7 separate regions of the Homo sapiens genome follow, and regions 1, 2, 3, 4, 5 and 6 are each linked to region 7. The links are contacts of gene promoters, found by promoter capture Hi-C in blood cells and fetal thymus (Javierre and others, 2016). All regions are on one chromosome and are shown on one strand. Each heading gives the region's core, a stretch centred on a gene start or on the middle of the fragment in contact. The rest is flanking DNA. Distances are from core to core; before and after follow the strand shown. Region 1 overlaps VWF (von Willebrand factor). Region 2 overlaps VWF (von Willebrand factor). Region 3 overlaps VWF (von Willebrand factor). Region 4 overlaps LTBR (lymphotoxin beta receptor). Region 5 overlaps VWF (von Willebrand factor). Region 6 overlaps VWF (von Willebrand factor). Region 7 holds the start of CD9 (CD9 molecule).

Region 1 (3,769 bases), core at 461-2,960, 180 kb before region 7:
AAACACACAAACAAAGTAAATATATAGAATTTCAGATGTGGATAAATGCTTAGGAAAAAAACAAAATGAGATAAGGGGGATGAGAATGCCCAGGGCTGAGGTGTGGGTTATCGTTGCATATATGGCAGTTGGAGAAGCATTTGGTGAAAAGATGGCATCTGAGCAGAAACCTGATGTAAGGATGGAAGGAGCCAAGAGGATGTCTGAGGGAGGGACATCCCAAGCAGAGAGAAGAGTGAGTGCAAAGGCCCCAGAGCAGAAATGTGACTGCATGCTCCCGGGGGCTGGGGAGAGAGGGACAAGCAAGAGAGGGAAAGGGCATGGATCAGGCAATGCTCCATTGGCCACAGTAAGGGCTCACCATGTTCTGTGAATGAAACAAAGCCAGCCAAGACTACAGAGCAGAGGGACAGGAGCTGATTTTGATATTAAAGGGCCACTGCAGCTGCTGTGCTGAGAATGATCTGCAGGGGACAAAGGTGGAAGCTGGGGTTCCAGTTAGACAGCTATTTCAATAGTCCAGGTGAGAGATGATGGGGACTCGGATTGAGGTGACCCTAGTGGACATGGTGTGGGGAGGTGTGACTCTCGAAGTATTTTGAAGATGGAGCTATAGTTTGTTCGTGGCTTGCATGGAGGTATCAGGGAAAAGGAAGAAGAATCAAGGATGCTGAGCTTTTTGAACTGAACAACTGGAAGGTTGGAATTGCCATTTTCTAAGATAAGAAAGACAGATGTGAAAATCAGGAGTTTAGTTTTGCCTATTAGAGCATGCAAACTGAGTTGAGGTGAGGCTGGAGATACGAATTTCAAAGTCAAAGATGTATAAATGTATTTAGACCCATGACACTGAACTAGACCACCAAGGGGGTATATGTAAGAAGAGAAGAGAAAATATCACAGGGCTGAGCCCAGAGAATGTGCATGCTCATTTACACATGAGAAACCGAGGCTTTGGACGGTTAAATGACTTGCTCTGGATCATATCTGCTTCAAGACCACAACTGCTTTCTTTCCCAGTGAAAATCTTTCTTTGGATTCTTGATACTGAAGGAGAAAAAATCTCCATCCTGAAATTCCTCAATTCAGCTCTCCAGAAAGTTCTAGGAATTTGCAATGTGCTTCAGGTTGGAACGGATTTTCTATTAGCAGCTTTTCAGCTCTTGTAAGTTCGTTATATTATCCAAATATATATCCTTTCCCTTTTAGTGTCCTTTACCCTAAAATCATAGATTTCATAAACATGTCACATTCATTCACTCAACAAACGTTAAATGGTCACCTATTTTGTGCATCATACACAGATGATACAAAAATAAGCAAGATCTTCCCTTGCCTTCAAAGAACTCCCAGTTTTTTGCAAGGAATAGATATGTTACAAATACAATACAATACAATACGATTTGCACATTTTGAGTAGCTCATATGTGACATAGAGAACGGAGCAAATAACTTCCTCAGGAAGAACATCAGGAAGACAGCAGAGAAAAGACAGGGTTCTGACAGCACTCCTAGGCAGGGTTCTGAAAGATGAACAGTTCTCCAGGTGGCCACGAGGGGACTCAATGTCACTCCACTCACCCAGACCTTCTTCAGCTGGGAGGTGGTCCCTAGACTCTACCACCTGTCCCAGCTCACATCCTGTTGATATTAAGAACATGATAAGCACATGTTCTTATGGAGCACAAGGCTGGACATCTGGATCCTTCCCTTTCCTACAGCATGATCCTTTGTCTCTCATCCATCAACCCTGCCAAGCCCATTACCTGGTACCAGGAAAGGACTCTAAATACATGAAAGCCCCCATTGGTTCTCAAGGCCCTACAATGAATCACTCTGGCCTCAGACATGACATTTTAGTAAGAGACCACGAATCCTACTTTAGAAAGAAAGGGCATAGAGGTATGATCACTCCTGGACACAAAGGGAAAATGTGGAGAAATTAAAGATTATAATTAGTTATAAAGATATAGGATCAATACACACTTTTTATTGTTTGGTTTCCTAATCACATCGTGGTTGGATAATTTCCTGCTGTTTGAAACCAGGACAGAGGTTGGTATTGAGCATATTTAATATCAGCCACAACATCCAAAAGTAACCCCAGCCCACTTTTAATCCTCTATCATTTCTGAAGTCTCGCTCTCCTGAATTGAGGACTGTACACCAGATTCTTACTGTTGGACCTGGCGGCATCAGCTGCTGCATCCACTGAATCCACAGAGACGTCCGTGACCAGGATGACCACCGCCTTTGAGGCTCCCGGCCTGGCACCATGCATTTCTGAAGTCAAGTATCGCACAGCAAAGCCCAAGGCATCCCCTGAGGATGGAGAACAGATCACGCCAAGTCAGTACTGACTGCGGCTCGACACCCTGTCTTAACGGTGGATCCTTAAGTCACTTAAAAGCTGAATGATTCAGAAACTCCAAGGAACACCCAGTTGAGATCTGGAGAGACGTGGAAGAGCATCTAGCCCCTCACTTTCCAGGAGAAGAAACTAAGGCCAAGGAGCAAAGTGACTGGCCGAGGTCACACAGTCACTTATGCCAAAAATAAGAACCAGAATGCAGCTTCTGCATCCAGCCTGTGGCACCAACGTTACCGATTTGGCTGGGGCCTCCCTCCCGCTGCATGACGTCCACAAGGCTCAGCAAATGGGCTTTCTCCGGGACCACGTTCCATGGCACGTCAATGGTGGTGATGCTTCCATACTGCAGCACTGACACCTGAGTGAGACGAGGCCCTAAACGGAACGAGAAAATGCGGATTATTTTGAATCAAGTAGAGCCACAAAAAGAGCCTCTTCGTCACCTGCTGCTTCAGGTGCCTCGCTCACCCACCTATATTGGCTTTTGAAATGAAAGCCTTGGCGAAACTCTTCATTTCATCAAAATAAGAAGCTGGGAAACTGGAGGAGCCATCCAGGAGAAGGATCACGTCCAGGGGCTGGCTGCAGTCTGCAAAGACAACCAGGAAGGTGAGCACACAGGTGCCAGCAGGGACAATGGCCACCAGGCCTACAACCTGACATCCAATAGGATCTGCAGGGCGTGCTGACCACGTGGCACCACCAAGGGGGGCGGGGGGTGCCTTCGTGAGTACAAGGGCAATGTGGGCCAGGGAGGAGGGGATGGGGAGATGGAGTTCCTGGGTCCGGACTACCTCAGATTTAGAGACACTGAGAAGACTCCAATTCTACCCAAAGGAAGTTTAAATGTCTACAAATAAAAGCAGCAGGCATAGGCTTCCTCGGTAAGAAGGGGCCACCATTCTTCTAGAAATGAGTAAAATACTGGCCTGGCAATACAAGGAGACTGCAAAAGGAAATGGAGCGGCAGCCCCTCCCTGGACAATGAGCTGCTGTGTCCTCAGATCTTGCAGGGCAGGTGAACATACTGTGATTCTTCCAGCTATAAATGCCTAGTGCTCCTGTTAGTGTCTGAGCACATCTGAGATTTGATGAAATGATGTAATTGTTGTTTTCCTCAGCAGAAATATTACAAGAATTTAAATAAATCTATGGCCGTGAATAAAAACAAAAACAAAGAAACAAAAGTACTGACAAGTGTGTGACTCAAAAGATACTAAAAGAAGGCTTATTATTCTGGGATGGTCCCAAACACACCGAATAAAGATGTTCAGGAACTAGGAATGGATTAGACGCCAGTGTCAGTAAAAGGTAGTAGTAACAGCAGTGGGAGCAAGCATTTTTTTTTGAGCACTTGTCATGTGCCAGATACTATTTTAAGCAAGTAGGTGCTATTAT
Region 2 (3,915 bases), core at 210-2,709, 240 kb before region 7:
CAAAAAATAAATAAATAAAAAATAAAGGAGGTTATTTGATAATGACAAAAGAATAGATTCATCAAGACATAAGAATGCTTAAGAGGGATGCATCTACAGAACTTCATAATATATGAAGCAAAAATGGATAGAACTAAAGGGAGAAATAGGCTAATCCACAATCTTAGTCAGTGATTTTTATGTTCTCTCAGTAATTGATAAAAACAAGTAGGAAAAAGACAAATGAAGATATAGAGGATTTGGAAAACTGTAAGAACCAATATGACCTAGTTGGAAATAATAAACTATTACATTCCAGAACTGCAGAGCATACATTCTTCTCAAATGCACACAGAATATTCACAAAGACAGACCAAATTGTGGGCCATAAAAATGTAAACATGGATAAACAGAGACTGGATAAAAAAGTAAATAAATGTCAAGATTTTGAAATCTTAGAGATTATATTCTATGACCAATTTCAATATAATGAAATTATATTGAAATTAGCAACAATAAAGTATTGAAAAACACACCACCATATTTGGAAATTAAATAAAATACTTTTAAATAACCCATGGATCAAAAAATAAATATTTTTAACTAGCGGTAATAAAAAACAATATATCAAAATCTGAGGAGTACAGCAAAAACAGTTCTTGAAGGAAAATTTATATTTTAAATTTTGTATTAGAAAATCATGAGCTAAGCTTCCATATTAAGATGCTAGTAAAAGAAGAGCAAATTAGACCCAGTCATTAAATGACAAGACATAATAAAAATAAGGGCAGAAATCAATAAAATAGAAAAGAAAAATATAAAAAGTAAAACAACAAAGGCAAAAGTTGGATCTTTGAAAGATTAATAATATAATAATATATAATATAATAATAATTAATATATAATAGACAAATTAGTCAAAATAAGAAAATCTCTAGCTAGATTAATCAAGAAAATAAAAAGAAACAAATTATCAATATTAGAAATAATAGAAGGTTTACAACTACAGATTCCACAGATATTAAAAGTATAATAAGGAAATGTTATAAACAACTTTGTGTAACTAAATTTGACCAACTTAAATACACGGATAAGTTCCATGAAAAACTGATTTACCAAACTAATTCAAGAAGAAATAGAAAATCCGTTTTTTTATTTTAAAAGTTGAATTTTATATATAAATCTTTTCCACATGAAAAGCTTCAAGTCTAGTAAGCTTCACTGATGAAATCTGCCAAACATTTTAGGAAGAAATAATACCAATTTTATATAAGCTCTTTAGAAAACACCACCATATTTTGTTGGATCTAGCATAACCCTGACATCAAAATCTAACAAAAGCATTAAAGAGAAGAAAATTAGAAACCTAACACTCTTAACATAAACATTAAAATCTTTAACAAAATATGAGCAAATAGATCTAGCACTGGATGTGAAACAGGATAACACGTCATGAAGAAAGGGGATTCATCAAACGAATGAAAGGTTGGCTCACCATTTGAAATCAATCCATGCAATTCCTCATGTTAACAGAATTAAGGGGGAACCATATGGTCATCTTAAAATATACAGCAAAACTGTCTGACAAAATTTAAACCAATTCATTGTAGAAACTCTCAGCACTAAAAAAATAGATGAGAACTTCTTCAATATGCTATAGGACAGGGGGCCCCAGTACCAGTCCGGTCAGTGGCCTGTTAGGAACTGGGCTGCACAGCAGGAGGTGAGCAGTGGGCCAATGAGTGAAGCTTCATCTGTATCTACAGCCACTCCCCATCACTCACATTACCAACTGAGCTCTGCCTCCTGTCAGATCAGCAGCCAGCATTAGATTCTCACAGGAGCCCAAACCCTACCGTGAACTGCACATGTGAGGGATCCAGGTTGCGTGCTCCTTATGGGAATCTAATGCCTGATGATCTGTCACTGTCTCCCATCGCCCCTAGATGGGACTATCTAGCTGCAGGAAAACAAGCTCAGGGCTCCCACTGATTCTACCTTATGGGAGTTATATAATTATTTCATTATATATTACAATACAATAATAATAGAAATAAGGTGCATAATAAACATAATGCATCTGACTCATCCCAAAACAATCCCCCTGACCCTAGTCGATGGAAAAACTGTCTTCCACGAAACTGGTCCCTGGTGCCAAAAAGGTTGGGCACTGCTGCTGTTGAACACACAACTATATCATACTTAATGAATTAATTCCCTCTAAGATCAGAAAGAAAATATTCCCATCAGTTCTATTCAATATTGTACTGATTATATTAGCCAGTTTGATAACAAGAAAAACAAAACAGAATGTATAAAGATTTCAAAGGAAGAAGTAAAAGCTGTCTTTATTTGAAGGTGTCATAACTGCTTATGAAGAAAATCCTTAGGAATCTGCCCCCTCAAAAAAAAAAAAAAAACACTATTACTACAACTAATAAGTGAATTTAGCAAGGCTGAAGAATACAAGATCAAAATATAAAAACTGATTTTATAAAAGCAACAAACAAAACATAAAATTTAAAAAAAACTTCCATTTGCAATATCGTCCAAAAACTTTAAATACTAGGTAATAAGTGTAACAAAATTTGTGCATCTACACAAAAAAAATCATTGCAGAGAAAAATTAAAGGAGACTGCTAAGATGTGAATGTGTGTGTCCCTACAAAATTCCTATGTTGGGATTTAAACTCCCAACTGATGATATTAAGAGATGGGGCCTAAGTGATTTAAGTCATGAGGGCTCCACTCTCCTGAGTGAATTTGTGCTGTTATTTAAAAAAAAAAAAAGTCAAAGGGAATGCCCTAGTGCCTTTTGCCTTTCCACCTTCTGCCACATGTGGATGCCATGAGAAAGCACTGCCTATGAGGAACAGGCCATCATCAGACATCAAATCTGCTGGTACCTCAATCTTGAACCTCCAGAACAGTGAAAAAATTAATTTCTGTTCTTTACAAATTACCCAGTCTCAGGTATTGTGTTACAGCAGCACAGACTGAGAGCAAGACCTAAATAATCGAAGAGATATACTATGTTCATAAATTGAAAAACTCAACCTTGTCTAGACATCCCTTCTCTCCAGATTAACCTATAGATTCAATATAATCCGGCACACTTTAAACATTTTTTTAATAAAAATTAACAGGATGACTCTAAATTTATATAGAAATTGAAAGGACATTAAATACCCAAAACAATCTTGAAAAACAGCAAAGTTGAAAAACTTAAATTATCTAATTTCAAGGCTAACCATAAAGTTACAGTAATCAAGACAGTGGTGAGACCATAAGGATAGACAAAGGATCAGAAAAAAAGGAGCCTAGCGATTGGTCCATACATACACAGGCAATTCTTTTTTTTTTTTTTTTTTTTTTTGAGACAGAGTCTCGCTCTGTCACCAGGCTGGAGTGCAGTGGTACAATCTCGGCTCACTGCAACCTCTGCCCCCTGGGTTCAAGTGTTCAAGTGATTCTCCTGCCTCAGCCTCCTGAGTAGCTGGGATTACAGGCACCTGCCACCACCCCCAGCTAATTTTTGTATTTTTAGTAGAGAAGGGGTTTCACCATGTTAGCCACGATGGTCTTGATCTCTTGACCTGGTGATCCACCTGCCTCAGCCTCCCAAAGTGCTGGGATTACAGGCGTGAGCCAGCACGCCCGGCCAGCAATTCATTTTTTACAAAGGCACCGACATAATTTAATGAGGAAAGGATCATCTTTCAACAAATGGTGCTGGACCCACTGGATAGCCACATGGGAGACCCCTACTTTATACCACATTTAAAATTTATTCCTCATGGATCATAGACCTAAAAGTAAAACTAAACTATAATGCTTCTAAAAGAAAACATAGGATACTATCTTCATGACCTTAGAATGGACAAAAACTTCTTAAACAGGACATAAAAAGCACTAACCATAAAAGAAAAACATCTA
Region 3 (3,976 bases), core at 189-2,688, 170 kb before region 7:
ATACACCCAAATACACACAGGCACATGCATACACTCAAACACACATATACATACATCTATGTACTCATACACACACTCACACACGTGCTCACACATACACAGATGCACACACATACACCCATGTACTCATACACACACACACGCATACACATACATACACACACGTAGCCATACACACACACGCGCTCACGCATACACACACATACACCCATGTACTCATACACAGTCACACACACGCACATGCATACACCCACACACACGCACATGCATACACCCACACAGACATGCTCATGCATACACACATGCACACATACATGCATACATATGTCCATACAACACACACAATCTGACCTCTAAGATTCCATTCAACTTAATGGAATTGTCAGGTTAAATGGCTTTGTGTTAGGTCGATGCATGGCGAAGGTTAAAAGAGGAAACAAGGGTGTAGGTGTTTTATTTGTCCTTATCTTCAGCTGAGATTTCTGAAAGAGGGAGTTAGGTCTTGATGATACTCCCCAAAGGAGGATGGCAGAAAGGGGAGGGGCCCCAGGACAATGCATCAGAAGACAACAGAACCAGCTGTAGGAAAGGAAAACAAGCCACACACAAGGGGCACCGTTTGGAGGGGGAGTCTTTAAAACTGGTCCACTTGGGAAAGCTGGCCTGGGCAGGGAAGGGCTGGGAGCAGCAGATGCTGACCAGCTGTCTGGTCCTTGCTGCACTGAATTAATTTTTTCCTGGATGTTCAGATTTGAAATGGGCTGGGCAGTTGTTCTGCAAAGCTGGTGTCGCCCTCTCTTTTGCTGCTGAGGCTGGGAAACTTCCATATAGAATCTCTGGGAAAGCTCTAAAGGGGCGCATATCCCCCCGGATCATAGGTTCCCTGCCTGGTCTGCATGCCCTGTGTCCCCAGCACACTGCCTGCCTCTCTGGGCCAGCCCGGGTGTGAGGTGGGGACTGAGGAGGCTGCTGTTGGCTCCGCCCCATGCCCAGCATGCTCTACACGAGTGGTCGGTCCACAGTCACCCACGCTGCCTGACTCACCAGCTCCTGCAACTCAGCCTCTGGGGCTGGGGCTCCTATGGGTTTGTGGTCTTCCATTCAGACCACACCAAGCTCCCGCCCCTCCTCCTCCTGGGAATGGAGACAGAGGGACCATATTTGTTCAAAGCTTCACAGAGTACAGTGCCTCAGCTCTGGTGAGAAAAGCACTCATACTTCCTTGCTTACACAGTTGATGTCAACCAGAAAGAGAAACTTACAAGAATCCACGCAGTGGGGAGTGGGAGGCAGAGGGGCTGCTGCCCACACTCACCGTGAGGATTCCTGGATCGCTCTCATCTGCTGGGCAGGATGACTTTCCTGTGTCCCATCCTCCCACTCCTCCCATTCTGAATTGTACCAAGTTAGACATTAAAATGGCGGAGAATTCCACAAAGCCATATCGTGGGAAGCAAACTCCAGGGGTCATTTCAACCATCCCCCTGTCCAGGGCCACTGCACAACACCTGCAGACTGTGCACTGCCCAGGGTGCTGGAAGGGAGGCTGAGCGGGACTGACTTCCCAGCCCAACCCACTCCCTAAGCTATGCACCCTGACTGAGGCTGTGTCTACCAGAAGGAACAGATGACTTTTTCTAATTCCACATCTGTGCTAATGTGGACTAGCAGTAGCCTTTCTCCCACACCAATCCTCAACAACAAACAAGCTTCTGTCTCGTTTTATAAGTCCCCAGGTGAGCAGAGGGAAAATGGACAACCACTTTGAGCTTCAAATCCCCTACCGCTTCAGGCACTTCTGTGAAGGACTGGGAAGTACTCCAGTAGAAACCAGACCCCAGAGTTGTTTCTGCAGACAGATCCACAGAACCCAACCTGAGGCCACACCTCCCACCCCTCCTAGAAAGAAACAGCACCCTCTCCCCATCTCCCCACCTCTCACCTGCACCAGAACGTACTGGCACTCCCCGGGGAACAGGTATTTGAGCCCGTCGAAGGTGAGGTAGTGGGCCATGCCGATCGTGGAGCACGTGGCATCACACACATGGTCTGTGCAGTTCCACTTCCGGTCCTGACAGACACTAGGAGCAGTCATGGCAGAGATGACAAGTTGGGCACCTTGGGTTTGAGGGGCCCATCTGGGCCATGGAGGCAATGAAGGAACACAGAATACTCTGGGTGCCTCCCAACCCTCCAGGAAGCCCAAGGAAGTTGAGGACCTGTAGCGTGGAGTGTGGACTTCATAGGCCCAGTATGGTGCCCAGCAGGAGACAGGGAAGCCTAGTGGCTGTCCCTAAAAGGGGGAAACTGAGGCAAAGAAGGGAAGGGGTTGTCCAAAGTGAGCCAGGCAGCCAGGGAGGAGGCCCGGATGCTCTTTAGGCCTCCTGTTATGAATTCGCTCAGCCTCACCCTGAAAGCCACATCTACCTGAGATTGGCCACAGGGTGTCTGTAAAACAGACACACTGATGTTGAAAGCCTGAGGCTAATGGGAAAAACAAGACAGAACAGTGGGAAAGCCCAGAGTATAGAAAAGAGTGATGAAGTACGCACTTCTGCCAGGAGCAGTCCTGTGTGCATAGCTACACGTTAAGATGTATGTAGCTACATGTTAAAATCTATAGTGATCTGCCCACTGCCACGTGTCCCTCCCTGCCACCACCCGTAACCAGAGCTGACATCAAGAAGCCCACTTGTGCGTCAGAGGTGGTAAGCTCAGACCTCAAGCCCAAGAGACAGCCCTCTCTACCTCTGTCCAGTAGGCCTCTTTCCAAGGCTGTGCACAGCCACCAAGTCAAAGGCAGGGTGAATGAGCAGGGTGAGGGGTTACGTGCAGGATGGCCAAGGAAAAGGGAGAAGGCAACCAGCCACCCTCACCTCAAACCACGCCACTGCAAGCACACTCACGAAGTGCTCATGGGCAGTGTAAGGCCTGCAACGAAAGGACCCTCCAGACCCCGTGCCCACTGGCAGCTTGGCCCAAATGCAATGACTGGTGGGGCGAGGTCCCTGTCTTCCCTGGGGCCCATCTCCCTGAACAGAAATACAAGCTGAGCATTCCTAATCCAAAACTCTGAAGTCCAAAATGTTCTGAAACCCAAAACTTTGAGCACCAACATGACACCACATGGGTGGCTGAGAGGGTGACACCTTTACTTTCTGATGGTTCAATGTACACAAAACTTTGTTTCATGCACAAACATTAAAAATACTAAATACACATTAAATACATATTTAAAATGTTGTATAAACTTACCCTCAGGCAACGTGTATAAGGTATATATGAACCATAAATAAATGTCATGTTTAGATTTAGGTCCCATCCCTAAGACACCTCATTATGTATATGCAAATATTTCAAAGTCCAAAATAATCCAAAATCCAAAACAGTTGTGGTCCCAAGCATTTCGGATAAGGGCTACTGTACTAACCTGTTGAATAGTGTCTATGCAGGATGGACACAGGTGATGAAAAAGATTCTCCCCATTTTACAGATGGAGAAACACAGGCACGGAGGAAAGGCAGAGAGTAACCAGGTTCCCACAGGGGGCTGGAGGCAAGTGCGGAAGGTCCTGTGGCCGCGTGCACCCTCACTCCACCCGCAGGGCCTGGGTCCCCGGCGCAGCCCCTCACTGAGCCTCACCAAGTGTTGCAGCCAATCTTCACTGTTTCTCCAGGGGCATACTCCTTGCCCTGATGGAAGCAGGGACACCTTTCCAGGGCCACACATCTGTTCTCATGCCGGACCTAAGAGAAAAGAATCCAAAAGTCCTCAGGGCCACAGTGACTGATCTAAAGCCCTCCTCCAGCCCGCTCCAGGAAGTGTTGTCTGAGACTTGAGCCTACGGGTAAGCCCAGCACTGGGACTGGCACCAGGACCAGGGCTGAGCCAGGGGGACAGCTTCCACTGCAGGCCAAGCCAGGACAGGGATCCTATGCCCAGGCCAGGGCTTGGCAAACATGGGTTCCCATCTACA
Region 4 (3,479 bases), core at 370-2,869, 190 kb after region 7:
GCCTCAGGCACGGACAGGGCACATGATACCAACTGCTGCCCACTACGGCACGCCGCACCGGAGCACGGCACCGAGGGAGCCGCCACACGGTCACCTGCAAGGACGTCACGGGCCCCTCTAAAGGATTCGTGGTGCTCATCCCCAAGCTTCAGAGACCCTTTGGGGTTCCACACTTCACGTGGACTGAGGTAGACCCTGCATGAAGATGAAATTATAGGGAGGACGCTCCTTCCCTCCCCTCCTAGAGGAGAGGAAAGGGAGTCATTAACAACTAGGGGGTTGGGTAGGATTCCTAGGTATGGGGAAGAGTTTTGGAAGGGGAGGAAAATGGCAAGTGTATTTATATTGTAACCACATGCAAATAAAAAGAATGGGACCTAGATAATTTATTTTCTTGGGATTTATACAGAAACACTATTCCATGGAGACAATCTCAAAGACAAAGGTCAAGACACTAAAATATAATCCCATAAAGATATTTCAGTGAGGAGCTGGTGAGTATAGTCCAGGTAATAACAGTCTCGTCAGTGATGGCTGACAACGTGCCAGGCAGTGTTCTCAATGCTTTACAGTACTAACTTACTTAATCTTCACAATAACTCCCTAAGGTAGATATGATTCCCATTTAACAAATGAGGAAACTGAGGCACAGAGCGGTAACTTTCCCAATTCAGCTGCAAATGACAAAGCTGGGATTTGCACCTAGTTCGTCTGGCTTTTAGAGGCCTCTTGGGGAAAAAAAAGCCTTCATATACCACGCCCTTCCAGAATTTCTTTGAACGGGTAGAATGGTCTGGCCTTCTCAAATAATCAGATCTCTTGCATGTTCCGCAGGTGTTACTTTTCAGTCAACTCTCAAACATCTAGCCACACGCGAAGTGAAAAATGTTCTCCAAGGTTGATTGAAGGGAAATGTGTGCAATTTTTTTTTTTTTTTTTGAGACAGGATCTAATTCTGTCACTCAGGCTGTTGTGCAGTGGCACTATTATGGCTCATGGCAACCTTGAACTCCTGGCTCAAGGGATCCGCCCACCTCAGCCTCCCAAGTAGCTGGGGCTATAGGTGTGTGCCACGACGCCCAGCTAATTTTTTGTATTTTTAGTAGAGATCAGGTCTCCCTGTGTTGCCCAGGCTGGTCTCGAACTCCTGGGCTCAAGCAATCCTCCTGCCTTGGCCTCTGAACATGCAGTGATTACAGGCGTGAGAGCCACCGTGCCTGACCTGAGGTGTGCACTTTAGACATAAAATGAGAGAGGCCAAGTTCACATTTTGTTGGTGAACAGAAATCTAGGCTGGCCTCCTTTTGGTTCAGAAAGAGTATTTATGATTTTTACTTTTTTGGTTTCTTTTTGTCTTCTTTTATTTTTACCCCCAAAAAGGACTTTAAATCTTCTCAAGCCCTCTTATTAGTAAATGTTTGCCCCTCCCTGCCCCTGAATTCTCTCCTGTGCTCGGTCGAGAGGATCTTAGCTTGCAGGATTGTTAGGGAGCTGCTGCCAGCCGGCTGCTCCTTCCATAAAAGGCCACTCTCATGGGTCTGATATGAGGAACTCTGTCGCTGGAGCTCATCAGGGTGGGGCGGCTGCAAAACACACACCTCAGAAGGCGTCTGATCCAATGGAGTGGATGGGTCATTTAAGGTTGACTGTGAAAATATCACATCCAACTTCCTTTTTTGAAAAGTAAATAATGGTGAGCTGTATCTTTAAATAAAGTTAAATCCTCCTGCCCCTGCAATATGCTGGGGCCAGACCTCATGAATTCTTAATAATTGTTCTAATGTGTTTAGATAAAAAACAAATTTTATACATTTTTTTCAACAAAATAAAAGGAGGAAAATATTTTGAAAGAAATGATGCTGAAGCACAGCCCTTTGTGACACCATTCAAATTTATAATTATACCTGCCTGTATTTTTTTAGAGACAGGGTCTTACTGTGTCGCCCTGGCTTGAGTGCAGTGGTATAATCGTGGCTCATATAGCCTCAGCTCCTAGACTCAAATGATCTTCCTACCTCAGCCTCCCACGTAGCTAGAGCTACAGATGCGTGCCACCACACCTGGCTAATTTTTTTTTAATTTCTTTTTTAAGAAGTGGGGTCTTGCTATGTTGTCCAGGCTGGTCTCAAACTCCTGGGATCAAGTGATCCTCCCACCTCAGCCTCCCAAAGAGCTGAGATTGCAGGCATGAGCCACTGCACCTGGGCTGCCTAAATTAATTTTCTAGGGCCGCCATAACAAAGTACTGCAGACTCGATAGCTTAAGCTGCAGAGATTTATCTTCTCACAGCTCTGGAGGCTGGAAGTCAGAGGTCAACGTGTTGGCAAGGTTGGTGTCCTCTGAGGCCTCTGTCCTTGGCCTGCTAATGGTGGCCTTCCTGCCACCTATGTCTTCACATGGTCTTGCCTTTGTGCATGAGTGTGTCCTAATCTTCTCTTAGTGGATTAGGGCCCATCCTGATGACCTCATTTTAACTTAGTCACCTCTTTAAAGCCCCTGTCTCCAAATAAGGCCCCATTCTGAGGTCCTGGGAGTTAGGGCTTCAGCACGTGGATTTTGGAGGGAGACACAGTTCCACCCACAGCATTACCCATGTCTATTTTGCCAGTGTGGAGTCAGTACAGGCTCCAGGACACATCCACAGAGCACAGGCCACGTAGAGGGGAGCTCCTGTCTACAAGGAAAAGCTGGCAGAAAACCAACAAAGACAGCCTCTTGATGGTGGTCTTCAAAAGATGCAACAGGATGCAATGGCAGTTGACAATGGGGTAACTGTTGGTTGTGAGAACCCTAATCCTCTACCACAGGGAGGAGAAAGCTAACACCAAGTCCAACCCACATCAACACGGGGGTGGGACACCCGTTAGGGGGCCAAGGCTGTAGTCCAGAAGAAAGGTGGATGGAACTGGGGACAGAGCAGTAGCACAGGGAGATGGGGGAGGATGGGGTAATTCAGAATTTCCCTTTTTGAGAGTGGCATCAACACAATGTCAAAGTAGGAGTTCTCCGGCTTCTCTCCTCCCCAACAGAATTTCAACTAGCAACAATCCTGTGGCAAGTTTACCACCCTGAATATCCCAGAACTTGGAGTGAAGCTTTGCATCCCCTGGGATGGCAGAGCCAAGAAAAACCATGAGGACGGTAAGGGGATGGCTGCTTTCTGACCACGCCACTCCTCCCCAAGCCCGCACAGTGCCACACGCAGAGGAGTCCCTGGATGCTCGGTTTCTCCAGTGGACACAGTGGATGGGAGGTGGGCGTTCGGCTTCCCCACCAGTCTGAGACTTCACAGGAGACTCACTCTAGTCTTTTCCCGCAGGAAGCACTGTGAGTACCGGCAGGGTCAGCCCAACAAGGGTCAGTAAGAACTTCCCTTTTCAAAAGATAAAGCGGTTCACATAGACAGCTGTGGTGGACTCTTTCTGCTGCCTGTCCAACAGACTTCTGCACATTTCCTAAGGACAGAACCGCATTTTTG
Region 5 (3,685 bases), core at 198-2,697, 220 kb before region 7:
CTGCAGATTGTTGCTCCCTTTTTCTCCAGTCTGATCCATCCTAAACATGCAAGAATAGGGCACCCCAGCACACACAGGAGCCTCAGGGGCAGCCACCACGAACTGGATTTGGGAAACAGGGATCATGTTTTCCGTACCTCAAGTTATAAACATGGTCTGAAAATCAACAGTCTATGTGGAAACACCAGAGTAAACTGAAACAAGGACGATCCTAGAAAATTCAGAGCATACATTTGTTCTAGGGACAGGCGAAGGTGATACATGAGGGTGGAAGAAAAAGGAAAACTTCAAGTTCTCTTTTCTAGGCATTTAGTCCTCCCCATGTCTCTGCTCAAACCTACTCCACCAGTACTTTAGACTTAAGGCCATACAACAGACGTGACCATTAGCCAAGGACTGAACTGCAGAAGGATGACGCAGAAATCCTTTGCTCATGCTTTTTCTTCTTACCCAGCCCTAACCCCCTCCCTCTTCCTCACCCCTAGCCTTGAACCAGAGGTCACTAAAGAACCTTTCTTGCCCTTCCTCGTGAACCCGGGAGGCAGAGCTTGCAGTGAGCCGAGATTGTGCCACTGCACTCCAGCCTGGGCGACAGAGCGAGTCTCCATTTCAAAAAAAAAAGAACCTTTCTTACCCTTCCTAAGATGCCCTCCTCTACTTTCCCGCTCTGATAGCTGCAGGCATGCCCAGCCCCTGCCCCACTCACCGACCGACAGCTGTCCTCACAGGGCTTCTGGGAGCACTGGGCCACGCGGAGGCCCATCACGGCATCCTCCATGTCGGTGCAGGTGCACACATCGCAGCCCTCCTCCCAGAACTGGCCCACAGGGTAGATGGTGCTTCGGTGGACACACACCTGTAGACATAAGTTTTCGTGAGTGAACTCATTTGTTTCATTGAAACAAGCGGTGAGTTAGCACCTACTACACAGAAGCCGCTCTAAGTGCTGAGAATGTGGCAATAAATAAAACCAAATGTGGTCTCCGCCCATATGCAGGGCTGCTTATAAAGCAGATTTCGTCCTCCTCCTTTCCCTGCCCACCAGCCTTAGAAAAGCTATGACCAGTCTCTCAGGGGTGGCCCCTCGTGAGGCCTTCATGGTCCCACAGACTTGAATACAACACACTGGCTGCCTTGGTCTCCCTTCTTCCTGCCTTAACTGCACTTCACTCCTTCCTATGTCACCGAGAAGCTGTACCCACATGCCCAGACCCAGTAATGTCCTTGGACTTGGAGCCCATCCTCATCGAGCCCTCTGCCCACTTACGAGCAAATTGGGCAGGGGCTATGAATGCATGTCCCCTTGCCCACGAGTGACTAGGAACATAACAAGTAAAGACTCTGGGACACAGAGCAGGGGATATGTTTGAGAGACAAGGGATCCTATTGGGAAGAACAATAGGCTCTGGTAGAGATGTGGGAAAACAGATGAAAAAGGCTGGTTGAAAGGGAAACGTGGAAAGTCTGGGATGCACGCCACAGACAATGCTCGGACATCCTTTTGTTGGAATGAGGAGCTAAGGAAGCTGTTTGATCACGGGACTTAATGACAGTTTTGAAATTAATCCCAAGTATGCCCTCCAAAGTTATGCAAAACGGGTCTCCACCCTGTGAATGTCATAATAGCAGTTCAAACATTTTGAAACCATTATCATTTATCTTCTCAGTCTTCTAGCTTCTGTATAATGAACTTATTGAATGAGACCCCTTGTTCTATTAAAAGGCCTGCAGGAAAATGTTACCATCCCTATGGAGAAGAATTGTTTAGCAATACTTAGCAAAAGTAAATGTGTATTTATAATTTGACCCAGAATCTCACTTCCAGGAATCTATCCCAAAGACACACTGGCAAGACCACAAAATGACAGATGCACACGGCTGTTTGTTACTGCAATTTGTAATAGCAAAAGGCTGAAGCAACTCAAATGTCCACCAATAAGGGACTTGTTGAAACAAAACTATGGTGCTGCCATGCAATGGAGTACTATGCAGCTATAAGAAAGAATAAGGCAGATCTCTACACACTGATACAGAATAATCTCCATCAAATATTGTTAAATGAGAAAGAACAATTTAAAATATAATTCATAATATGCTTCCTTTCTATGAGAAATGGGAAGAAATATACATGTATAAAATTCAGTTATATTTTCAAAAAGAGAAAAACTAATAAAAATTATAAAGGCTGGGCACGGTGGCTGATGTCTGTAATCTCAGCACTTTGGGAGGCTGAGGCGGGCAGATTGGTTGAGTTCAGAAGCTCCAGACCGGCATGGGTAACATGATGAAACCTTGTCTCTACAAAAACATACAAAAATTAGCCGGATGTGGTGGCATATGTCTGTAGTTCCAGCTACTCAGGAGGCTGAGGGGGAGGATCGTCTGAGCCTAGGGGGTGGAGGCTGAAGTTAGTTGAGGTCGCATAACTGCACTTGTGCCTGGGTGACAGAGCAAGACCCTATCTCTCTCTCTATATATATATATTATATATTATATATATTCACATATATAAATTATAGGGTGGAGGAAGGAATAAGGTAGAGAAAACACAGAGTAAGACTCCTGGGAATATGTCTTGTTTTATAATTTGGGGTTTAAAATCATTTAAGTGTTTTACACCATAGTAATTTTAAAATTTAAAAGAAATAAAAAGCAATCCCTAAAAATGGAAAACAAATTGAAATATTAACTAGATATCGTCAGTGGCACATAATTATTATTTATAATAATTATATGATATATTACATCATAATATAATTATAATAGTTATTTCAAATGACTTCAAAACCTAGTATTTACACAAATATCCCCCAATGAGGTTTTTTTTTTAGGACTAGAAGAACTGAAAGGAAATTTTATGTATTTATTTATTTTTTGAGACAAAGTCTCACTCTGTAGCCCAGGCCAGAGTGCAATGGCACAATCTCGGCTCACTGCAACCTCCACCTCCCGGATTCAAGTGATTCTCCTGCTTCAGCCTACAGAGTAGCTGGAATTACAGGTGCACACCACCACACCCAACTAATTTTTTGTATTTTTTAGTAGAGATGGGGTTTCACCATGTTGGCCAGCTGGTCTTGAACTCCCAACTTCAGGTAACCCGCCCACCTTGGCCTCCCAAAGTGCTAGGATTACAGGTTAGTTTTGAAACTATTACAGGTATATTGCAAGATAAAGCAAATAAGTAGTTAATTATGTTAGGAAACCAGAATTTTCAACTTAGAAGAGAAATGATACAAGCAAAAAATCAAGGAAGTAAAGTCCTGTAATTTCATTTGAATCAGAAATACCACTACAAATTTACGAGTTTTTATCCTCTCTTAAAATATGCATTTCTAAGCTCTGTTCACCAAAAAGGTCTGAAGGCAATGGCAACCCAGAGCCATAAATATTCTTGGCACCCAGATCATACCGCCTAAATACCACTTTCACTAAAAGGTAGGGGGACTTTTGTCAAAATGGCAGATCCAAGGACTAGGGCAGGAAATGCCCAGGGTGAGCCCAGCACGCCTTATTGTTTCAGAAAGCAAGAAAGCTACGAAAGACTCATGAGGCCATGCCAACAGGCTCCAGAGCCAACTTAAAAGAGCCCCCATTTACCCCAGGGAGGACAACTTGAATATCAAAAAAAAATAAAGTTTACAATGAATCAACACACATCAAACACATAAGAATCCATGAGTTC
Region 6 (3,679 bases), core at 758-3,257, 210 kb before region 7:
GCCAAATCTAGTCCTAACAAATGTTGTGAACCTGTGTGTCCTTAGTAGGTTTTGTTGTCCTTTTTTGAATACATATGTCTTTTATGCTTGAAAAGCATCTTTAAATTAGGAATACACAGCTTAGAACTGCCTTGGGAGAGAAGCTACAAGGTGATTCATTTCCCTCGTTCTGATTCGCTCAACAACTTCCTCACATCCTCAAGGCACCAAGGCAGGCAGGTGATGGACGAAGTTTCCAAGGATTTGGAGCACCAAAGATTTCCCTCTGTGTGCACAGTAAATAACCAGGAGGTACACAAAGAAATCAGTATGCAGAGAAAGTGCTTCCAGTAACTTAGAAACTAACATTTGCCCCTTGATTTGCAGGCTGATTGGGAGGAGGCAGTATCATCCACATGGCCTCAGAAAATCAGAGCCCTAAGGAACCTACAGGTTATCTAGGCCAACTATCTCATTCTAGGATGCAGAAACTGAGGTCCAGAAAGACTAAGAGAACAGTCCATCCACCAGCTGAGCTGGGACTAGGATGCCCAAGTCCTCCAGACCCAGCTCAGAGCTGCTGACAGTTCCATGATGATAAACTCTGAGGCTCTAACAGGCATGTACATATTGATTTCCCTCAAAAAAATAGTCGAGGATTATATTTGATGACTGAGGGTTTCAAGTTCAGTATTCTTTTCACTCCAGCACCCCTGAGGGACAGGAGCCATATCTGATTCATTTCAGTTTCCCCTGTACTTTAAATAAATGCCAAGTCCAGGTAGGGAAGCTGACCTTGGGGAGGGGCTGTCTGCACTAGCAATCCTGCAGTGTTTATAACTGAGAAGACTCTTGGCAACCAATGATTCTACTTGCACTTCAAAATCCTGCTCAGGCATGGACTACACTGTAAGTGTGTGCTAAAGCTTGGTGGAATTTCAAATTCAATGTGACTGGTTACACAGCCCTTTACAGATGCCTATATGTGTCTAACACATTAAAATCGCATTTGTCTGAACTATAGAAATACTAATGGAAAGGACCATGCATTAATTTACATAAAAATTCTACGTGCAGAGTGTATGTGTGTATATATATACATATATATGTGTGTGTGTGTGTGTATATATATATATATACACACACACACATATACATATATGTATATGTATATATATATCTTCCATCTTATTTGATCCTAACTGGAATCCCAGGTCATACGAAATACAGGGATTTTCATCCTTATTAGCCAGATAAAGAATCTGGGGCACAGAGAGGCTGAGCAAGCCCAGTTAGCTGGTCTCCAGGATTTTCAGAGGTAACTTGGAGACTCACCACAGAAATCAGGTGTCCTCCAGTCAACGCAGACCCCGTTGGTCCGACAGAGGTGGGCATAAGAGGCGATCACCTCACACACTTGCTCCTGGTGGCAACTGTCCTGCTGGCAGATGGCATAGAATGTGGCTGGAGCCAGGACCTTGTGGCATTCAGCAAACAGTGGTAAGAGGAGGACCTGGCAGTGGGAGCTGTCGGGGACAAGACACTGCTCCTCCAGGATGGGCTGGCACGTCTGCCCTGGCCGCTGCACAGTCCATTCCTGAACAAGTGTTTTCCAGTCTGTGGTGACTGTGCCATCCCTCAGCATGAAGTCATTGGCTCCGTTCTCATCACAGATCCCTAGAGAAACAAACAAACAAAAAAAAGATAAACTGAGTGGCCCTGGGTACAAAAACATTGATGCCAGAGACAGGCCATTCTTGATCCTCACCAGAATCTGACCCTCGCTACTAGACCCTGAAATATAAGCATCCAAGAGCCTCAGAGTAGAGCAAGTAAGGTTTATAAATGTATAGCAGGGGGAGAAGAGGAGTTGAGAAAATGTTCTTACCACACAGACCATACGTCTTTGAAGCAAAAGTCTTGGGGCTGAGCTGCAGTTGGAACTCATTGTTTTGTGGAGTGAATGTGAAGATGTGACCAAGGTGATTGAATCTGACCTCATGCATGATGGCACCATAAACGTTGACTTCCATGTTCCCACCCACGTAAGGAACAGAGACCAGTCTCCCATTCACCGTCACCTGCACAAAGAAGAAAGAGCTCATCCGTAGTCCTAGCAATGAGGAATCCTAGGTTTTTAGGGAAGTTACCGAGAGTTCCTGCACATTCATCACACTCAACTGCAACATCAGCCACAAACCTTGATATTTGTCGGCAGCTCTTCTAAGATAAAGAAGAGCTTGACTAGAAAACAGAGCTTGACTTTACAGAGCTTGACCAGAAAACAGGCTGTTGTAATACTGTACGGGTGGCCATGCACCAAGAACCTAAAAGCCTGGAGATTAAAAGGAACCTTGAGTCTATGTGACTCAACAGGGAAGGGCAATGCCTTTAAGACAGGCTGGGAAAGTCGCCTTATTGCCAACTCATCAGAGCAGTGTCTCCAAGAGCATCTAGCAGCTGTGTCCAACCCTTTGAATGCAAGGACATTTTTGCTTCTCTGTGGTGGTGGATATCAGAAAATTATGCCCAGACCTTTTTTTTAGCTCATCAGCTATCGTTAGTGTTAATGCATTGTATGTGTGGCCCAAGACAATTCCTCTTCCAGTGTGGCCCAGGGAAGCCAAAAGGTTGGACACTGGTGTTTTAATGGGACCACTTTAAGTCTTCTTTGTGTGTATGTGTGCCACTAGACGCTCTTTCTTGGGCAGCCCCACCATATATCATATCAAACACATTAAAATGTACTCACATTCCACAATGAATATAATTTTGCTGTAAAATTTTTGGAAGGATTTTTTATCATTTTGATTTTTTAATTTTTGGCTATGAGTTACTCACTTGATATATGACTAAGATTTTTCTGCAATTATTGTTCAAATTCAGGAATTCTTGCGAAGTGAGAAAATCTAGCTTACAAGTTGTTTTCACACAATGAAATATTTATGATTTCTACACGAACAAGTAAAGAAGTTGGCATAGTGTAACCTTTTGTAAGCATTTAATCAATCATTTATATATATATATATCAGTTTTGCAGTTTTCTTTTCAAATTTTGGAGCCTGACGTTTTATGTAGGCCTTAAATATTTTCAAAAGACCTAATTTAGGCCATAAATGTTTCCCTTTGGAAAGCTTACAGGGTTTAGGCATTGGACTCATAATACCTTCCGAGTGAACAATCCTGATGCCAATCCCAATTCTCCACCAGTGCCAGAAACTGGCACTAAATTCACAATTTTATGCTATCTAAAAGTGATTCCATCTTGCAAATCTGAGCCCGGAACAACATGAAATCACGCCAAGACAAGGGGATGGCAATAAACCCCTCTAAGAAAGTGGTACTCCTCTCCTCCACTTAAGCAGAAGGCAGAGCTCCTAACAAGAGCATCAACTAAAAGCAACTGCCACCAGGTCCAGGTGGTTTTCCTGACATTCTATTGCCTTACCACGGATCCACAGAAAGTACTTCTCACCTCCATGTCACTGTGCAGCTCGACGGAGAGGGCACTGTGCTTCACCTCGATGGATTTCATGCAGCCCTGCCTTGCTCCAGGGCTGCAGGCACCATTATGGAGAATCACCTCCAGGTCCTGCTCCTTGTTTTGAAATAGGACATAAGAACAGCTGCCAGTCAGCTTGAAATTCTGCCCATCAAAGGTCACGATGTGCCGAGTGGAGCTGCCTGTGCACACGCCTGG
Region 7 (3,898 bases), core at 453-2,952:
CCCTGCTTGAACCTTTCGGTGGCCCCTAATGCTCAGAGTGCAAAGTCCAGGAGCACAAGGCTCTTTCTCACCTTCCCACAAACTACCCCGTGACTCCAGGCTCCAGCCCAGAGCCCGGACAGCCCCTGCCCCAGCCTTTGCCCAGGATTCTCCCTTGGCGGCAACTTTCCCTGTGGTTCTGCAGCATCATCTCCCAGTCTGGGTCAGAGGCCTCTCCTTAGCCTCTTAGCCCCCAAGCCTCTCCCCGTAACTGCACCTATCACCCTCAAACCATTGTCTGGCTGCCTGTCTCCTCCCACACTGGTCCCTGAGCAGAAACAAGGACTAATCCATGTTTTTCAGCTCCTACCCCTAATGAAATACCCTAATAGATACTGAAAAATGTTTTTGAACCAATGAGACAAGTCTACTGATAATAAACAGGCAAATAACAGCAATGTGCTAACAGTGGCTGTTTCTGGTGAGCAGAATTTTGAGGTCTGTTCCTTTCACTTCTTGGTATTTCGGTTGTTTCTGTAATGACTGTATCTTGCTTTTGTAATCATAAAGGACAGTAAAGGAAACTTCATTTTGAAAATAATACAAAGGGATTCGGGGACTTCAAAAGAAGGTGACTCTCCTCGTCCACTCCAGAGAATCAGGAAAGGAGTGTTTAAAGACCCACAGAATTCCTACAAGTGACGTTGGGGGGGGGCCAGCCAGCCAGGGCGCATGCCGGCCAGCGAGTGGGGTGGGCTCTGGGTCCGGGAGAAGTCAGATCAGTGCTCTGTACAGGGCCTTGAGGGCAAGACGAGGAATTTCGACTTAGGTCCTTGAATCTGGAGAGCTACAGAAAGTTTGTGAGCTCAGGAGAAGCGCTCCGAGCTCGGCATCTGGAGCAGTTCAAGGCAGCAGCGAGCAAGTCCAAAGACGCAGGAGGGAGGGTGGGGTGGAGGAGTAGAGAGAAAACAGAAGCCGTCTACAGACCCTTTTTCCCTCTGGGGCAACTAAACCTCAAGTGCAGGAAGCGCTTGGGGACTGCCCAGCCCTCAGCTGTGTTATTATTCGGTGATAGGTATTTGCTAATTACTTCCAAAAGCCTCCCATCTGTCATCCCACCCAGACTGCGCGCTTCTAATTCCTCCTACCCCACATGCTGTGCCCAATGAAAAGTATGGTCAGCGAGCGAAGGTTTGCAAGGAGACAGACGAGGGCGAAATTAAGCCAGGCGGCTTCCCTTTAAATCCTCGCAAAGCAGAAGGGCCCCTCACTCTGGCAGCAGGCCTTGGCCAAGGGGCCTTTAGCCCTGACGACCCGGGGAAGAGTCTCCCAAAGCAGAACGCCCGGTCCGGCGCCCAGACCAAACGCGGGGGAACCGGAAGGGCGAGGCCTCCACGTAAGTCCGCGGTAAAAGTGGCAGGGAGTGGCTGCCTGCAAAGACCCCAAGACGGCTTGAAGAAGGAGTGGGTGGCGGGTGGGGGTTAGGGCGACTAGGCGGGGAAACAGGGAGAGGGTCGGGCTCCGCGGGGCAGCTGGGGCCGGGGCTCGCCGACCTGGGCGGGGGCGGGGGGCGGGGGGGGTGCGGCCCGGGCGGGGCCGGTGGGGCGGGAGGCGTGGCCGGCGGGGGGAGTGGGGGCGGCTTTTCCCGGCACATGCGCACCGCAGCGGGTCGCGCGCCCTAAGGAGTGGCACTTTTTAAAAGTGCAGCCGGAGACCAGCCTACAGCCGCCTGCATCTGTATCCAGCGCCAGGTCCCGCCAGTCCCAGCTGCGCGCGCCCCCCAGTCCCGCACCCGTTCGGCCCAGGCTAAGTTAGCCCTCACCATGCCGGTCAAAGGAGGCACCAAGTGCATCAAATACCTGCTGTTCGGATTTAACTTCATCTTCTGGGTGAGTGAGCGCGACTGCCGCGCGCTCCTCTCAGGGCCCACCTGTTCGCGGGCCCCGGACACTGGCCGCGGCCGCGAGTGCCGGCAGCTGGCACTGCCCGCACCGGGCAGGCACCGGGCGGGAAGAGAGAGCGCCCTGCGGCTGCCAGCTGGCTCCAAGGCCGGGTCCAGAGCCGGGCGGGACGGCCGCGACGGGCGCATTCGGGTGGGGGCTCATCACCGCCCAGCCGGCGTGGGGAGCCGGGCCCTCTTGAGATGAGGCGTGCGGGAGGGTCCTGAGCACTTTAGCTCGCCTAGGATTTGAGCTGGGGTGTGTGTCTGCTCCCAGCTCAAGTCCCTCCGAGTGCCAGAGAGGAAGGCAGGGAGAAGCGGAGCACCCCTCTTTGGGCCAAGGCCAAGGAGGACTGTGGTGAGCAGTATGGCTTGTGACCGGGTGGGGTCTCCCAGGTAGTAGGGGGCGCCAGGAAGGGAGGGTGCGGGCACGGCGAGAGCTCAGCCAAGAGCGGCTCTCACTTTTACGCAGGAGCGGCAGGGGTGCCTCGGCCGCGGGTCCGGCCCCGGGACCCAGTCCCTGAGAGTCGGGGGCCCCTCCACCCTTGAGGAGGAACCTCGCAGGCCCCCGTTCCCTCAGACTTTGATTCTGAGCCACCGTGAGAGCGCCGAACTCCCTGGTAGCTCCCTGAAAGACTAGCTTGTCTTGATTTCTTTCAAGGACGATAAGTATCTTCACTGGAGAGAACTCAGAGTTCGGGAGAGGAGGGGGCAGATACCTATCTGCGCCTCTAGTGGGATGAGTCCTGTGTGTGCATTTCCGGGAGAGATCAGGTGCCAGCCAGCTGCCCGCCCAGGAGAGCCTTGGCCTTGCCCTCTCCCCTCCCCGCCAGCCCAGGCGGCCCACCCAAGGCCAGGCAGGGCGCAGAGCGGACGTTCATCTGGAGAGGCCAGCGGGGCCAGGAGCTCCAGAGACACCTGCTGCAGGCCACTCAGCCTCTACAAATGGGAAGGCTGAGAGGCGACAGAAGCAAGGAATAGGAAACCCTTGTGTCCTTGTTTCTATAGCCACATTCCCTGCACACACATGACAATACTTGCCGCTCTGCAGGCAGGAAGAGAGTCTCTATGCCACTCTCAAGATAGATGGATGTAGAAACAGGTGCATGCCACCAGAGTCTTGTAACAAAAAAGTGCACTTGGCCAGGCACAGTGGCTCATGCCTGTAATCCCAGCACTTTGGGAGGCTGAGGCAGGAGGATCGCTTTCATCCAGGTTCAAGACCAGCCTGGGTAACATAGTGAGACCCCCATCTCCACAAAAAAATAAAAAATTAGCTGGGCGTGTTGGCATGCACCTGTGATCGCAGCTACTCAGGAGGCTGAGATGAGAGGATGGCATGAGCCTGGGAGGTCAAGGCTGCGGTGAGTCATGATTGCACCACTGCACTTAGCCTGGGTGACCTAGTGAGCCCTGTCTCAAAAAAAGTAGAAAAGAAACAAATGCACTTATTCCCCCTGGAGCTGGTCACTGAGGTCCCCACAAGCCTCCTTAGGGAAATCTTCTAAGATTCACTCCTCCCCAGAGCTGAAGGGGTGGTTGAACAGTTTTTCCAATTTGCAGAGACTGACTTCCCCCAGTGCATCAGTCACCATAACACACACCCCAGTGAGGACGGCATATAGGTGTGCTCCTTCCCAACCCTTGACTTGCTTTAAAAAGACCCTGCTGGCCGTGGGCACCCCTCCTCCTGTGTTGCCACCCACCCCAGCAACCACCCAGCTGCCACGCTTAGCTTCTTTCTTTCACCAATCCCTGGCAGCAGAAAAGTATGCGGGAAGGCAGCTGGCCTCACCCACCCTTGAACTTTGGGAGTTTTCCTCTCCCCTCCCAGGTACAGTCTCTCCCGGCTGGTGTGTTGGTTAGTCCTCAGCTGTCTGCCTAGACTGCATCCAGGTTTGGGACTGCAGGGAAACACAGACTGCCACAGTGTGCCTCCCTACCCCCATCTGCCCCATGGCATATGCAGGAAGCTGATGC

Evidence for each region. Contacts are between HindIII fragments. The CHiCAGO score rates a contact against its expected background, and 5 or more counts as called.
Region 1: a fragment that was not itself captured here is called in contact with the fragment with the promoter of CD9 in region 7 in 1 of 17 cell types (neutrophils); the score reaches 5.3 in neutrophils.
Region 2: a fragment that was not itself captured here is called in contact with the fragment with the promoter of CD9 in region 7 in 1 of 17 cell types (endothelial precursors); the score reaches 5.2 in endothelial precursors.
Region 3: a fragment that was not itself captured here is called in contact with the fragment with the promoter of CD9 in region 7 in 5 of 17 cell types (neutrophils, M0 macrophages, non-activated CD4 T cells and 2 more); the score reaches 8.5 in neutrophils.
Region 4: a fragment that was not itself captured here is called in contact with the fragment with the promoter of CD9 in region 7 in 1 of 17 cell types (neutrophils); the score reaches 5.1 in neutrophils.
Region 5: a contact is called between a fragment that was not itself captured here and the fragment with the promoter of CD9 in region 7, in 2 of 17 cell types (neutrophils and monocytes). The highest score is 7.6, in neutrophils.
Region 6: a contact is called between a fragment that was not itself captured here and the fragment with the promoter of CD9 in region 7, in 6 of 17 cell types (neutrophils, M0 macrophages, monocytes and 3 more). The highest score is 10.0, in neutrophils.

What each region holds. Positions count from the first base shown.
Region 1 is chr12:6,013,911-6,017,679 of GRCh38, forward strand. VWF (von Willebrand factor) reads right to left here. Exons shown (of 52, transcript NM_000552.5): 29 at 2,844-2,960; 30 at 2,606-2,746; 31 at 2,179-2,322. Among named protein-coding and RNA genes, the nearest start is that of SNORA120, 24 kb to the right of the region's middle. The HindIII fragment of the contact is 4,695 bases long and covers 1-3,769 here.
Region 2 is chr12:5,959,207-5,963,121 of GRCh38, forward strand. All of the region lies in intron 47 of VWF (von Willebrand factor), which reads right to left. Among named protein-coding and RNA genes, the nearest start is that of ANO2, 16 kb to the left of the region's middle. The HindIII fragment of the contact is 532 bases long and covers 1,194-1,725 here.
Region 3 is chr12:6,032,746-6,036,721 of GRCh38, forward strand. VWF (von Willebrand factor) reads right to left here. Exons shown (of 52, transcript NM_000552.5): 19 at 3,643-3,746; 20 at 1,943-2,081. Among named protein-coding and RNA genes, the nearest start is that of SNORA120, 5.4 kb to the right of the region's middle. The HindIII fragment of the contact is 538 bases long and covers 1,170-1,707 here.
Region 4 is chr12:6,391,187-6,394,665 of GRCh38, forward strand. LTBR (lymphotoxin beta receptor) reads left to right here. Exons shown (of 10, transcript NM_002342.3): 10 at 1-380. Among named protein-coding and RNA genes, the nearest start is that of LTBR, 8.8 kb to the left of the region's middle. RefSeq lists an enhancer at 1-287. The HindIII fragment of the contact is 2,950 bases long and covers 145-3,094 here.
Region 5 is chr12:5,975,405-5,979,089 of GRCh38, forward strand. It overlaps VWF (von Willebrand factor), which reads right to left. Exons shown (of 52, transcript NM_000552.5): 43 at 707-856. Among named protein-coding and RNA genes, the nearest start is that of ANO2, 32 kb to the left of the region's middle. The HindIII fragment of the contact is 9,174 bases long and covers 1-3,685 here.
Region 6 is chr12:5,992,548-5,996,226 of GRCh38, forward strand. It overlaps VWF (von Willebrand factor), which reads right to left. Exons shown (of 52, transcript NM_000552.5): 35 at 3,455-3,675; 36 at 1,868-2,060; 37 at 1,315-1,656. Among named protein-coding and RNA genes, the nearest start is that of SNORA120, 46 kb to the right of the region's middle. The HindIII fragment of the contact is 2,208 bases long and covers 904-3,111 here.
Region 7 is chr12:6,198,698-6,202,595 of GRCh38, forward strand. It overlaps CD9 (CD9 molecule), which reads left to right and starts at 1,703. Exons shown (of 8, transcript NM_001769.4): 1 at 1,703-1,868. The coding sequence starts at 1,803. RefSeq lists enhancers at 575-1,187, 1,188-1,799, 3,026-3,638, 3,639-3,898. The HindIII fragment of the contact is 13,626 bases long and covers 1-3,898 here.